Linked DNA regions of Homo sapiens: all the other regions are linked to region 1. Evidence: promoter capture Hi-C in 16 types of primary human blood cells and fetal thymus (Javierre and others, 2016). All regions are on one chromosome and are shown on one strand. Each heading gives the region's core, a stretch centred on a gene start or on the middle of the fragment in contact. The rest is flanking DNA. Distances are from core to core; before and after follow the strand shown.

The links. The method cuts DNA at HindIII sites, captures the fragments that hold promoters and counts their contacts. A CHiCAGO score of 5 or more calls a contact.
Region 2: a contact is called between a fragment that was not itself captured here and the fragment with the promoter of CNKSR3 in region 1, in 3 of 17 cell types (erythroblasts, M2 macrophages and megakaryocytes). The highest score is 6.8, in erythroblasts.
Region 3: a contact is called between a fragment that was not itself captured here and the fragment with the promoter of CNKSR3 in region 1, in 1 of 17 cell types (non-activated CD4 T cells). The highest score is 5.3, in non-activated CD4 T cells.

Annotation. Positions count from the first base shown.
Region 1 is chr6:154,507,732-154,512,541 of GRCh38, reverse strand. CNKSR3 (CNKSR family member 3) reads left to right here and starts at 1,857. Exons shown (of 13, transcript NM_173515.4): 1 at 1,857-2,479. The coding sequence starts at 2,428. It overlaps LOC101928868 (a long non-coding RNA gene), which reads right to left and starts at 1,751. Exons shown (of 2, transcript XR_001744422.2): 1 at 1,580-1,751. The HindIII fragment of the contact is 4,325 bases long and covers 1-3,264 here.
Region 2 is chr6:154,800,704-154,805,098 of GRCh38, reverse strand. SCAF8 (SR-related CTD associated factor 8) reads right to left here. Exons shown (of 20, transcript NM_014892.5): 7 at 2,952-3,128; 8 at 1,476-1,555. Among named protein-coding and RNA genes, the nearest start is that of MIR1273C, 50 kb to the left of the region's middle. The HindIII fragment of the contact is 700 bases long and covers 1,159-1,858 here.
Region 3 is chr6:154,086,145-154,090,591 of GRCh38, reverse strand. OPRM1 (opioid receptor mu 1) reads right to left here. Exons shown (of 4, transcript NM_000914.5): 2 at 414-766. Among named protein-coding and RNA genes, the nearest start is that of OPRM1, 49 kb to the right of the region's middle. The HindIII fragment of the contact is 1,426 bases long and covers 1,942-3,367 here.

The DNA.
Region 1 (4,810 bases), core at 608-3,107:
ATGTGGTCACCCTAATCATAATCAGAAATCACACAACAGGCAGTGATTGCTGAAACAAAAGGTGTGCATCAGGTTGGTTACCCTTTCCAGTGAACCAGTGTCAAGGTCCTTCTCTCTGCTGACTGCTGTAAAGATGGTTAATGCTGGATGTCATTAAGTTTAAAGGTCTTTTTTTTTTTTTAAGGACAACTACTATATCAGGAATTTTGTCATTGCCTTTGCCAACTTGTGTGGTCTGCCAGTCACTTTCGCTAGATGAAGAAAAAGAATCACTATATTTGATAGTTGTGTGTCTCTGTGTTGCCCAGTCCTCTAGGGGAGTTGAATGGGAGGTGGGTCTGATGTTTTGCTTTTTAAAAATGTTTCTTTTGCTTGGATGCTCCAGCTCATCAGATGCTAGGCTGGCTGCTAGCTATTTTTCCACATGTGCGTCCAAACAGACCTGTGTAAGTAGCACATATCACACGAATTCAACAAATACTGAATGAATACAGTGGCTGGCACATAGGAAGCATTCCCGGATATTTACTGAATGAATAAATACCAACCTTGCCTTTGGTCCCGTGCTGGGTGCTACAAGTTAGGTGGTAGGAAGAAAGGGAGGAGAGAAAACTCTATATGAGATCAAGTAGGTTCTGCCCTCAAGGGGTTAATAGTCTCCAAGAGGAAGATGTAAATAAATAACCGTAATTGAAAGTAAGAATCATTCAGTGCCAAAAAGAGTGGGAGGAAGAGGTTGCTGGGCGGGGCGGGGCGGGGGTGGGGGGTTGGGGGGGGTGTTGGGGGGTGAGGGGAGGGGTGGTGGCGAGGGTGGCAGGGGTTGGGGGGGCGGTTAGGATGCAGGGAGAACTTGAAGGAGAGGCAGGCATTCAAATTAGATTTTCCCCCAGTTTAGCATTAACTCTGGCCCCAGTTGCAGTCCATGAATGTGGAAGGGCCCTCCCCTGCCAGGCGCTGAAATTGTGCACGAGCTATTTTTTTTTTCTTGGCTAACAGCTTTCCTCTCACGGTTAATGACTAATCCCAAGGAGCATTAGCTCACTCTGTAAATATGAAATTATAATATAGCAAAATATAACGCTAAAAGCCATCAATCTAATTTTAGTCGCAAAGTTGAAATTTCATAGCAATAGCATTAAAAGAGTTACATTGTTACGATTTCAGTCAACATATAAATGAAATAAAATTGTTCTGGCCTGGCGCGGTGGCTCAGGCCTGTAATCCTAGCACTTCGGGAGGCCGAGGCTGGCGGATCACCTGAGTTCAGGATTTCGAGACCAGTCTGGCCAACATGGTGAAACCCTGTCTCTACTAAAAATACAAAAATTAGCCGGGCGTAGTGGCAGACGCCTGTAATCCCAGCTACTCCGGAGGCTGAGGCGGGAGAATCGCTGGAACCTGGGAGGCAGAGGCTGCAGTGAGCTGAGATCGCGCCACTGCACTCCAGCCTGGGCGACAGAGCGAGGCTCCATCTAAAAAAAAAAATTGTTCTACTTTAAGAAACCTAAAATGACGGCTTAATGGCAGAGTAGTATTACGATATAAAGCATTTAAAATGAACAGAACATGCAGATCTTACTTTTTTTTTTCTTTTCTTTTTTTTTTAGTGTATTGTTGCTCACAGCGAGACAGAGTGTTCTGCTACCCACAGGGCCAGGGCCTCACACAAACCAGCGGGCTCTCCAGGGTGCGCGCGCGATCTACAACCCGCCCCTTGAAAAGGAAAGCGGGGCCCGGGACGCTGCGGGTGTGAGCCGGACCGGCTTAGAGAGGGAAAGTAACCCGAGTCCGCCGCTTCGGGCGGACCCGCCCCCTCCCACGAGTTTCCCTAGACCCTCGGCCCCGCCCTCTCTTTTATTCGGTTTGCAGCAACCGGAGCTGAAACTTTGCAACCCGAGCGCGCACGCTCTGCGCTCGGCCCTGCCAGGGCGGCACGGGAGGGCGGCGCAGGAGGTGGGACCTGCGCCGGGAAGGCTCCGGGACGCCAGCGCACGCGGAGCGGGGACCCCGGAGAGCCAGCAGGCGAGAAGACCGGCCGAGGGAGAGCCGATCGCGCCTCGAGAGATCCGAGGAAGTGGTCGCGGGCCGGGAGGCTCCCGTGCCGAGCCGAGGCCAGGGGTCTGGGGTCGCAGCCCGGCGTGCCTGCAGCTGCCGTCGCTCGGGAGCAGCAGCTGTGCCCGGGATCCCGGCGGCGGCGGGGGAAGGAGGAGCTGCAGCTGGACTGTGGCAGCTGGAGGGAGAGGGCCGGGCTCCCCTGGCGGAGCCGCGCTGGGACGACTGGCTGACCGCGGCCATGCAGTCTTGACGGAGTCGCTCGGGCGCAGGGGAGCAGCCGCGGGCGCGCCCTCCCGGGAAGGGGCACCGGAGCGCAGGCAGCAGCACTTTATCTGCGACTCTCCAGCCCAGCGAGAGGCGAAGCGGTTTACCATGGAACCCGTGACCAAGTGGAGCCCCAAACAAGTGGTGGACTGGACTAGAGGTGCGCGGGCCTTGGGGGGGTCCGGAGTCCTCCAGCCTCGGGGATGGGGCGGACGAGGAGCTGGGGAAGAGGGTACTTGGCCCTTCCTCCCGGCGAGAAGCGGTGAGGGCACAGCCCGGTGACAATGCAAACTTCTGCCGAGTGGCCTGTGCGCTCCTATCTCTCGTACCTGCTCCGAGCTCTTCCTTTCCAGGGTGCGGATTGTGGCAAGCCGAGGGGAGCCCTATCTTTAAACCAGGGAGTAGGGGTGGCCTTTCTGTGGCGGTTGAGGGCTGGGGATGCCGATCTCGGGACTCGGCACTCGGGCCGGGGGGCGCTCTCCCTGCCTGGCCCCGGTGCGGTGCCCGGCGACCCGGGGGCCCGAGTGCAGAGGCACAAGGTGCCTTTGTGTGGGTGACTCCCGCGGGACCTCGTCCATGCCGCCTGCCCAGAGCCGTCCGCAGGCGTGACAGGGCTGTCGGACAGGTAGAGGGAGACTCCGGCGGGTCCGCCGAGCCTGTCTGTTTTTGTTGGAGAAGGCGAGAGGGCCGCGCAAAAGCCAACACCATAGCATTTGCGCCAGGGAGAAACCTCGAGCCAGGACTCCCCGGGAGGCAGTGACTTTTGCTCCGGGAGGCGCCAGTATCCCCGGTGGCGCTGCATTTTCAGGCCACATGTAAGCACTGGGAAGGAGAAATATAATTGTTTGGAACCACTGTCTTGATTCATACAATATTTGGGATGAGGAAGGCAGTGGGGCTGGGGCGGTGGGGGGGTGGTGGGGGGAATGAGCAGAGGTAGAAGCTTGTCCTCCTAGCTGGCTCGCTTACTTTTCAATGTCTCCTACGATTTCGAGGGAAAGGTACTAGAGTTTACTCAACCCTTTTCTGTACTTTCAAGAGAACAAAGTCCACCAAGAACAATCTGTATTTTCATGGTTTCCCCCCACCCCCAACGACATCTCTGTTTCAAGTTACTATTTGTTTTTCTATCTGCTCTTCCAGGTGAGGAATGGTGTTCTTTCTCAGTAATAACTAGAATTGTGTAGCGCTTTACAGTTTGCTAAGAGCTCTCTCTGTTATTGTCCTTGGTCATCACAGTAAGCCTGTGAGGTAGGTAATACTGGTAAGACCAGGTCGTCTTTCAAACCGTCCCACCCATGGCTGCAGCATAATGAAAACTGATCACCGCTACATCTCATTTCTCACGCCTGTGACTTACACATAGACCACGTGGAATAGGATGTCCGAGGTGTGTGGGGTGTGTCAGTGGGTATGTCTGACCATTTCCTGCTCCTCTGGGAGAACTCCTTGAGAACGGGTTTGTCAAGTGAGCAGAATTTCCTGGACTCCTATATAAAATGAAGCTAAAAACAACACATGTTTCTGCCTTGGTGACTAGGTTTCCCTTGGTAAAGAGTAAGTGGCATTGCCAGTACTTGGTAGGAAGCATGAGCTTAAAAGCCATCCATGCCCACGCTAGCTTGAAATGAGGTGTGTTCCTCCATTCAAGATGCTGCCAAATTCCCTAGGCTGGCAGCTTCCTGAAACTGAGTTGATATGTATTTTATCTGTATGTCCCTCATAGAGCCAACTTGAGACACTGCAAATTTCAGCTACTGTTGACTTCTAGAGCCGCTCTGTCCAACTTAGTAACCAGTACCACTTGTGGCTCTGCAGCCCTTGAAATGTGGCTGGTTAGAATTGCAATGTGCTGTAAGTCTAAAATACACATGGCATTTGAAGACTTGGTATGAAAAAAAAGAACATGAAATATCTTAATACTTTTTATTACATGTGGAAATGATAGTATTTTGATACGTTAGGTTAAATAAAATATATTACTAAAATAAGCTTCACCTGTTTATTTTTACCTTCTTACATATGTCTCCTAGAAAATCTAAAATAACACAGGGCTCACATTTGTGGCTTCCATTATATTTCTATTGGACAGTTCTGCTGTAGCAGAAAGAAAGGGTTACATCTTATCACCCTGGCTTTTCTGAGCCTCTGCCAGCTTAGTTGATAATGTACAATCAGAAAAATGGTAACAGGCGCACAGGAAGATTATGGAGTGAGATCTTCACACCCTCAAGATTTGTGTCTGGTTTTGTTGTTGTTGTTGTTGTTGTTTTTGTCCCTCTTGGGATTGGAAAAGGAGAAGCGTAAAATCACATCCTGTTATGTTTGTTGAGTATTTAAAAGGGAAAGTAGATTAAAACGTTTTTGTTAGCCAGTTGCCTTGACGTTATCAGTTAGTTGAGTTACTTTCATCTAGGAAAAGTTTTCTCCTGACCTGAAAGAACATCTATGGCTGGCTCAATACCTACGATACTTACTAGGTTACATACCT
Region 2 (4,395 bases), core at 259-2,758, 290 kb before region 1:
ATATAAATTACTGCTTTTTCATTAGAGCATATTAAGAAAATCTCAATATTTATAAAAAGTTTAAACATTTAAACATTGTTACTTTAACTCCTTCTCTTACTATGAGATAGAAAAACAGTCTATCAATCAGTATGTGTGAAATCTACCATTGTAATTGACCATAAAATTTATAAAACTAATATTCTTCCTTTAGAAAATCATATACATTATTAGGTATGTTAACAGAGACAGATACTGTTTAAATAAGAAAAAATAATAGTTTAACTATATTCTTGGAAATTCACACCTGGAATACACCTGGGATTCTGGGTGCCACAAGGTAAGACATTAACAATAAAAAGGGCATCCCAAAAGAGCCAAACAGGATGGTGAGAAGTCTTGAAACAGTTGGAAAAAAGTGTACTTCATCTGAAGCAAATAAACCTAAGGGGAAGAATGATACCTGTCTTCAAATAATGAAAAGCTACATCTCTAAAGATAGCGGAGTAAATTTGATTCCTTGCTTCAGAAAGCAAAACATGGGTCAGTGTATATTAATAGAAAATAAAGGAAACAGGATTCAGCTCAACAAAAGAACACACAATAATAACAATTAGTTAACTTCTCATTACAGAAAGCATTAAAATACTGGATAAATAAACTGTATCATCAGGACTGTTAAAGGAGATTCTTACATTGTTTAGGACACTGATCAACATGATTTCAAATGCTGCTTGCAAGTTTGCAATTCATAATCTAAAATACTAGTTTTTAAATTTTGTCAAGGGGAATCATTTTACTAAAATGATACATTTGTATCTAACATATTCTAAAATTATGTTTTTGTTTATTACCCCAATATATACAACTAATAACTTCTGTTTGAAACAAGAGACCCACAGACTTTCACCATTCATCCTTCTTCCATTCTCCCAACTTCTACCCCTGCCTCCTCCAACATCTTCCCCCTACTAGTCCATTCACATACCCTCACAGAACCTTGGGCACTGCAGAATTGTTTAGGGAAAAAAAAGTAACTGATTTAATAAAAACATACAACACATTTCTTTACAAAAAAAAAAATCCTCATAACTCCAATCCTTAATTCTCATTAGGTTGATGTGTTTCCACAATTTCATATGCTTTCTAGAAGTGGCCTCTAAGCACTAGAAGCAAGCTTCATTCCTAGTATTCCAACCACTCTTACAATTAAGTTAAATAACTTAAAGCCTAATATGGAAAATATTACAACCAGATTTACCAATATGTATCAATGTTCTTATAGGTAACTTTGATACAGTCTATTTGCAAAGATCTGAGAAAAGACTCAAAATAATACAAAGAGACAACAAGACATATCTCTACCACCTTTGTATAATGTTAGAGGTTCAACAGCTTGAAATAATAATCCCAACTTACTAAGTATACTTAGTAATTCAGATGGCAACATCCCACTAAATATAAAAAAACTATGGCTATAAAGAAAAAATTCTTACAGTTGTGAAGCTGGAATTTCCTTTTTGGGTTCTTCACTATGCTCAGAGTCTTCCCCAAAATCAAACCTATCCATCAACTTCTGGGGGAAAGAAGGAGAAACAGACATATTAAAAAGTGCTTCACACAAATACAAGTTACAAATGCTATTTTAAATGTCAATGGCATTCCGTTATATCTATCATTTAATGTGTAAATAAACATTTTGTATCACTTTATACTATTATAAAGTGTTTTGAGTAGATCTTTTCTTTAAAGCATTTTGATATGTATTATCTTACATAACAAAACAAATTATGATAGAGGCAGGATAAACACTAATACTCAAATTTTACAGAAGACTAAGAATTAAAATAATTAGGTGGTTTTTCCATGGTAATAAGCTTGATAAAACATCTAGGGCCATATTCAATGGATCTATTCCTAATATGGTTCTCATCTTAGAATGCTGTTATTCTTCTGAATGCTCAATTTAAAGGCTTTTTATGTGGTCTAGCTATTTAGTGTTAGACTATATTAGACTTAGAAGCTGCTGGCCAAAACAGTCTAAGTAATAATCCAATAAATCAGTATCTACTTTCCTATAAAAAGTACAAATTTTAAAAATATGAACACCACTTCCAAGTAGTATGATATTCCCATAATTAATAAGCATACTAAGAATATCACACACTAAATTGTACATGAAAGATTTTAAGTTTTAGAAACACTTTAATTATTAATAATTTAGGCATCAACTTATTATAGTTACAGTATAGTGACTAGTTGTAGAGAAGTTTCCTTTAAACATTTTACATATTGATTAAAGAATTTTAATTTTTGCAGGTCCAAATTACAGAACCCAGAGCATCACAGTAAAATGTGGCACCCATGAAAGAAATCAGACAAGCTCAGAAAGTAATCACTTGCCTCAGTGGTGAATACAAGATTTTACTGACTAGTTATTTTTAGTCAAATGAAAATATTTTAAATGTTTCAAAAATGTTTCAAAAAAAATTTTTTTTTTTTGAGTCAAGAGTCTTTCTCTGTCACCCAGGCTGGAGAACAGTTGCTCAATCTTGGCTCACTGCAACCTCTACCTCCCAGGTACAAGCAATTCTCCTTCCTCAGCCTCCCCAGTAGCTGGGATTACAGGCACGCATCATCTGGCTAATTTTTGTATTTTTAATAGAGATGGGGTTTCACCATGTTTGCCAGGCTGGTCTCAAACTCCTGGCCTTAAGTGATCTGCCTGCCTTGCGCTCCCCCAAAGTGCTGGGGATTATAGGTGTGAGCCACTGTGCCTGGCCTAGGAAAAATTTTTTTAATTACTTAATTTTTTTCAGAAGTTTGAACCTTTTGTAAAATTCAGACTGTCTTATACAGTGTACAGGAGATACTGAAAGTCTACAATAAAATTTATTTATAGAATTAAAATCCATGATAGTATATAATATTTAATAATTCATATAGACTTGATCCGATATTTTAATTTCTACCTTGTTAAAGGAGACTCCCTGTTCTAAGGGAGTAAGAGTGTTGGCAGCTGCAGCTGCAGCTGTAAGTTGTGCCGTAAGAGCTTGCAACTGAACAACAAGACCAGCATCTAGGGCCTGCAGAATGGAAGGCTGGGGCTTCTGTTGTTGTATCTGTAAGGTTTGTATTAATTGTTGAAGCTGGAGAGAAAAAAATATATATTACAAAACAGGTGTTGGGTTTTTTCTGTAAGAGTGGCCACCTAAAACTTTTAGTCAGTAAAATTAATCATTCCACACTCTCTTTGAAAAAAATACACACTATTAATAAGTTAATTTTTTGAAGTTTTTCTGTGTACCTTATATAACACAGTCCTTAATAAGTTTGTCTTACTTCTGGAAAGTCAGCGAACTTTAAACAAAATAAAGTGATCTGTGACAACCAGATAAAGCGCTCATCACAAGCTGACACCTTTTTCACTAAATTTCTCTACCTTGTTCAATTAACTCTTTAAACTCAGTAAAAGGACGAGTACTGAAAATAGCAGCAGCTTTTGCTGTTATTCAGAATTACCATCTGAGCACGTACTTCCTGAAAGTTGGAGAGTCATTAAGAAATCTGTTTCTCAGAGTAGAGTCTGGCAACTAGTTATTAATAATAGTGTCATCTAGAGTTGAAGGCAACTCTTGTTCCCACCATGTACCCACCCCTGTTAAAAAACAGACACAACAGTGAGATCTTTAAGAGATTCTATAAATAAGAAAACCCTATATACATTCCAGAAATAAATGATAATCAATCTGGTTATAAGCCTGAGTTAAATCCAAAAATTATTAGTTTAAAAGAGAAAAATAAAGACAGCAAAGCTACTGATAACCAAGACAACTGTACTCTTGAAGTTCAACTTCTAGGATGAAAGGACACAAAAACTATGTAAGATGACAGTAAAGTAATTTCATGCCTACTTAAAACAGTAACACTAGGAAACAAACTAGAGTCACTTCACTATCAACTAAACATTTTCTATAAAACTATTAAAATGATAGAAACACCGTATTTCCCCTTTACACTTTTTAACTGCTCCTTTTGACATCTCCATTTTTCCCATGGCACTGTTATTCTTTTGGTCACCCAGGTAAAAAACCACTGGAGCATCCAATTTTCTTCCTCTACTCTGACTTCGCAGTCTATCAATTACTGTCTTACTGACTCTGTTTGTACTATCCCTTTCAAAGTTTCTTCTGTCAAAAATATTTATTTTAATAGGCATCTTTTAAAATAAGAACACTTGCTTTATGAATTGTTTCCAAAATATTACCACAAAATAAAATTACTAATTCTATAATTTCACCTAATATACAGCTAATATTCAGTTTCCCAACTGTCTCAAAAATGTAGAAAATAGATTCAACCTAAGAGTACACATCGGTTTTTTAAAATATTTTTAAGTCTAGAATGGCCCCATGT
Region 3 (4,447 bases), core at 1,405-3,904, 420 kb after region 1:
CTTCATTTTTTGATGGATTGTTCAATATTCTGATATTAGGTGTAGAAAGATACATTTGCCATGTAGTCAGCCACTTGATAATTTTAAACAAGCCTCAGTGTAATACTCTTTGGGTTTAAGCTCCAATTACTCTTGGGAGAGCTATGTACTAATTTACACACCATTTTTATGAAGTAAATACAGAGAAATCAGAAATAAATAGATTACATTCTCTTTAAAGGATTTAATAGGCCTAAAATTATGAGGAAAATTCCTATTTTTAAGTATTCAAAGGCTTTTTTTGCTAGGAAGAATAATTAAAATTACAATGTGACTAAGACAATGGGGCACTCCATAAATACTGCTTTGCTTATGACATCACCAACATATCAGGCTGTGAACCCTCCTTCCCTCAGGCTGGTAACATCACTCACCTTGCCTGTATTTTGTTGTAGCCATGAACATTACAGGAAGACCAATGGCTGAAGAGAGGATCCAGTTGCAGACATTGATAATTTTGGCATTTCGGGGAGTACGGAAATCTAAGGCCTTGACAGGGTGGCAGACTGCAATGTATCGATCAACACTCATGGTGCAGAGGGTGAATATGCTGGTGAACATGTTATAGTAATCTATGGAGATCACTATCTTGCAAAGGATGGTTCCAAATGGCCATGTTCCCATTAGGTAATTCACACTCTGGAAGGGCAGGGTACTGGTGGCTAAGGCATCTGCCAGAGCAAGGTTGAAAATGTAGATGTTGGTGGCAGTCTTCATCTTGGTGTATCTAGGAGATAAAGGAAGAAGAGTGAGAATCAGTAAAAGACACTAGTGTAAAATATAGGTAAGCTTCCAATAATAAATTTGCATGAATTAGTAGAAAGCTTTTTTGAGATTAGATATAGAATTGTTTTCCAGTATCAGCTTGGCTATTTACAATGATGTCAATGATGTACCTATTGGCTAAATAGCTGCAATAATAGCAACGATGCTGCTTTGTTGAGTTTCTTCCTTTTTTTTTTTTTTTGGATAGGATCTTGCCCTGTTACCCAGGCTGGAGTGTAATGGTATGAACAGAGCTCACTACAGCTTTAACCTCCTGGACTCAAGAGATCCTCTTGCCTCACCTCCTGAATAACTGGGATCCCAGGTGCATGCCACCATACCCTGTTAATTTTAAAAAACTTTTGTAGGGACAGGGTCTTGACATGTTGCTTAGGGTGGTCTTGAACTCTTGGGCTCAAGCAGTCCTCCCTCCTCGGCCTCCCAAAGTGTTTGTGTTACAGGCATGAGACACCACACGCAGTGAGGGTTTTAATTTTTTTTTTTGTAATGTGTCAGTCATTGTGATAGGTCTAATAGAAAGAGGGAGATTCCAGTCAAATAGTAGGGGCAGCGACTGGATAGTAATTCTAAATATAAAAGAGAAAATTTTAGCTATATAAATATAGTTAAAATTATCAAGAAGTATAATTGTGCAAGTGTCTATAGGTATGTACACAAACACATGCACATACAAACACACAGGCGATTATGGGGCACAGAGATGAGGCATCTCACAGAGCATAAGGCAAAGGGAATAGTAGGAGTAAGATGTGGAAGGCATCCTGGAAGTGCAAGTTTAATCTCAAAGCACAAGCAGGATGATTGAGTTAGACACTTGGTAGGAGCAGGTCATTCTAGACAGAGAGGTAACAGAGAGAACCCCAACAAAGATGTAGAGTTGGAATGGCCTGATGTGTGTGTCAAGCACATTCTACCAGGGAATGGCAAGGGATCTGACTGGGGAAGAAGAGAGGCCAGTACATGAAGAACTTGTATGCCATGGTAAGATTAGACTCTATCCAATCCATGATGAGGAACCCAAGTGTGTTTGCTTTGTTTTTATTTTTTAATGCTTTATTGAGGTGGAATTGACCTATAATAAATAACGCATAATTAAAGTATACAATTTGATAAGCTTTGATACGTGTGTACACCTGTGAAACCACCACCATAATTAAGATCAGAGATTGGCAAACTATGGTGTGTAGACCCAATTGGACCGTTGCCTGTTTTATAAATAAATACACCTATTTAAAAACCCATAAGTGTTTTGATGCTACAATGGCAAAGTTCAATAATTGCAACAGAGATCAGATGACATGCAAAGCCTAAGTTATTTACTATCTTGCACTTTACAGAAAAAAATGTCAACCTCTGATGAAGATAATGACATCAATTGCTCCCAAAAGTGTCTTTGTGTAGCTCTTTAATCTTTCCTGTTTGCCCCTCCCTGTCCTCATATCCAACCCTCACTATTCCTCAGGCAATTGCTGATCTTGGTTTGCTTTCTGTTCTTATAGATTAGTTTGCATTTCCTAGAAGATGCAAATAGAATCATTCAGTATGTACTCTTTTTTTGTGCTGCTTCTTTCACTCAGTGTCATTATTTTGAGATTCATCTATGTGGTTGCATATAACAAGAATTAATTCCTTGTTATTGACAAGTAGTATTACTTATGCATTCATCTGTTTTTTTTTTTAATCCATTCACCTATTAATGGGAACTGAGTTGCATACAACTTTTGGATGTTACAAATGAACTGTTACGAACATTCATGTGCAAGTCTTTATATAAACATATGCTTTTCTTCCTCCTGGGTAAGTATCTAGGAGTGTTATATGTTTTCAAGGCCTGCAGAAATTAGAAATATGATAGTAGAATATAAGCAGGTACACTTGCAATAATACATTATATCTGATGGCAGAAGTATACCTTGTAAACATTGGACATCATTTTTTTTTTAACATTCCACATATATTTACCTTAATTTAGTAATAGTACCTCAGTTTCACTCTGGGAACCACTCATTTCCCGTTCTCAGTCCAGGTGCTTTGGGATAGGCTGTATTACCAGTCCAGGGCGTGAAGACGTTTAGTGACCGGGGCCATGGTGAATGGCAAGGATGCTCTCATGTTCCAACCAGAGCCAGTGAGAGTTTATTTTGAGACTTATGGACAAAGAGTGTATTAGTTTTCCTGCAGGACCCACACCTGAGAAGACGCATGGTATGTAGTTGCTGGAGGAGCTTGTCTGAAAATGGACCTAATCCGGAGGATGTGGATTTGAGAGCGTGAGAGAGAACCCCACACCTGAAGCCAGGCCCTCCTTGGGCTTCTGATTTACACGGTGCCATCAATTCCTTTTAAATGTTAGCTTGTGTTTACTGTTTTTCCGTCACACGAGGTTGAGTCTAACTCATTCAGCCCAAGACAGCTGTTGGTTGGAGGCCCTTTGTTTAGGACTGAATTCAGTGTCCAGGAAAGTGTTTTGGTTTCAATAACATCAGGAAAGTGATTTCATAAATCTCCTCAGGGTCAATAGGACAGCTTTGTTACTGAAGCTTTAAAATTCTGATACCTGATCTGGTCTGCAATACTTGCAGAAGCTGCATTACTGCCAGAAAAGCTCCACATTTTCAGACTTGGGGGCTTTTTTTTGGACTTACTTTGGGAGTTTCACTTTCTTAATGGATTTTAAAGAAAAAGATAGAGCCATTTAACTTGAGGAGAGAAAATAATTTGCTTTTAGTTTGGACTTTAAATATGGCAAATATAAAAAGGATAATGTAGACAAATACTCCAAAGTACAAAAACCAACAAAAAAGCAAAATTAAAACTGTGGTTTTAAGATTTAGAATAATTGACCTTGGTGCTCAAGAAGTTGAAACATTTTTTATTTTTTTAATAAGAAGAAGTTTCTCCCCAAAAGAGAAAATAACTTTTGCTAGATTCACCGTTGGTTATAGACCTGCATGATCTAAAGACATGCTTCATTGCATTTGCCACTTTCCTACCCAGCAGACCTTACATTTCGTGGCTTATCTTTAATGGTGTTTTATGTTAAGTAATTGGTTTCTTTACAGTCAGTTTTCTGACTCATCATACTTCCAACCTTTCCTTCAGGCTTATTTTAGCACTAAGTATTTCCAATGTATGTTTATTTTAATTAAAAAAAATCATTTCCTTCTCCAGAGTGAGGTGTTTGTGGAAAAAAAAATTATGTCAGGGTTCAACATGGTGAAAGGAAACGTGGTTATGCATAGTTAATTAGCATGCTAGCCATTCCACAATGTGTATACATTTCAAAACATCATGTTGTATATGGTAAATATACATAATTTTATCATCAATTTACCAAAAAAAAGTGAATATTTATCTATAAAAATTCTTTCAACGGGCATTTTATAGGAATGATGCTGTTTAATTTTTCTCAATTTATTTAAAAAGTCTTCCTCTAAAGATAGCCAGCATTCTTACCCCAGTTACTCATGCTTTGGATCACAGCAACATATAAAAGGGGGCTCAACGATCTTCTAAATATGTGAAAGAAAATTATACAAAGCTAAAGGATTAAGAATTCCAATTGCCTCCAGCATATACCCAAAGGCTTTAATCTGAAGAGATGGTCTAATCAGAAAAGGAG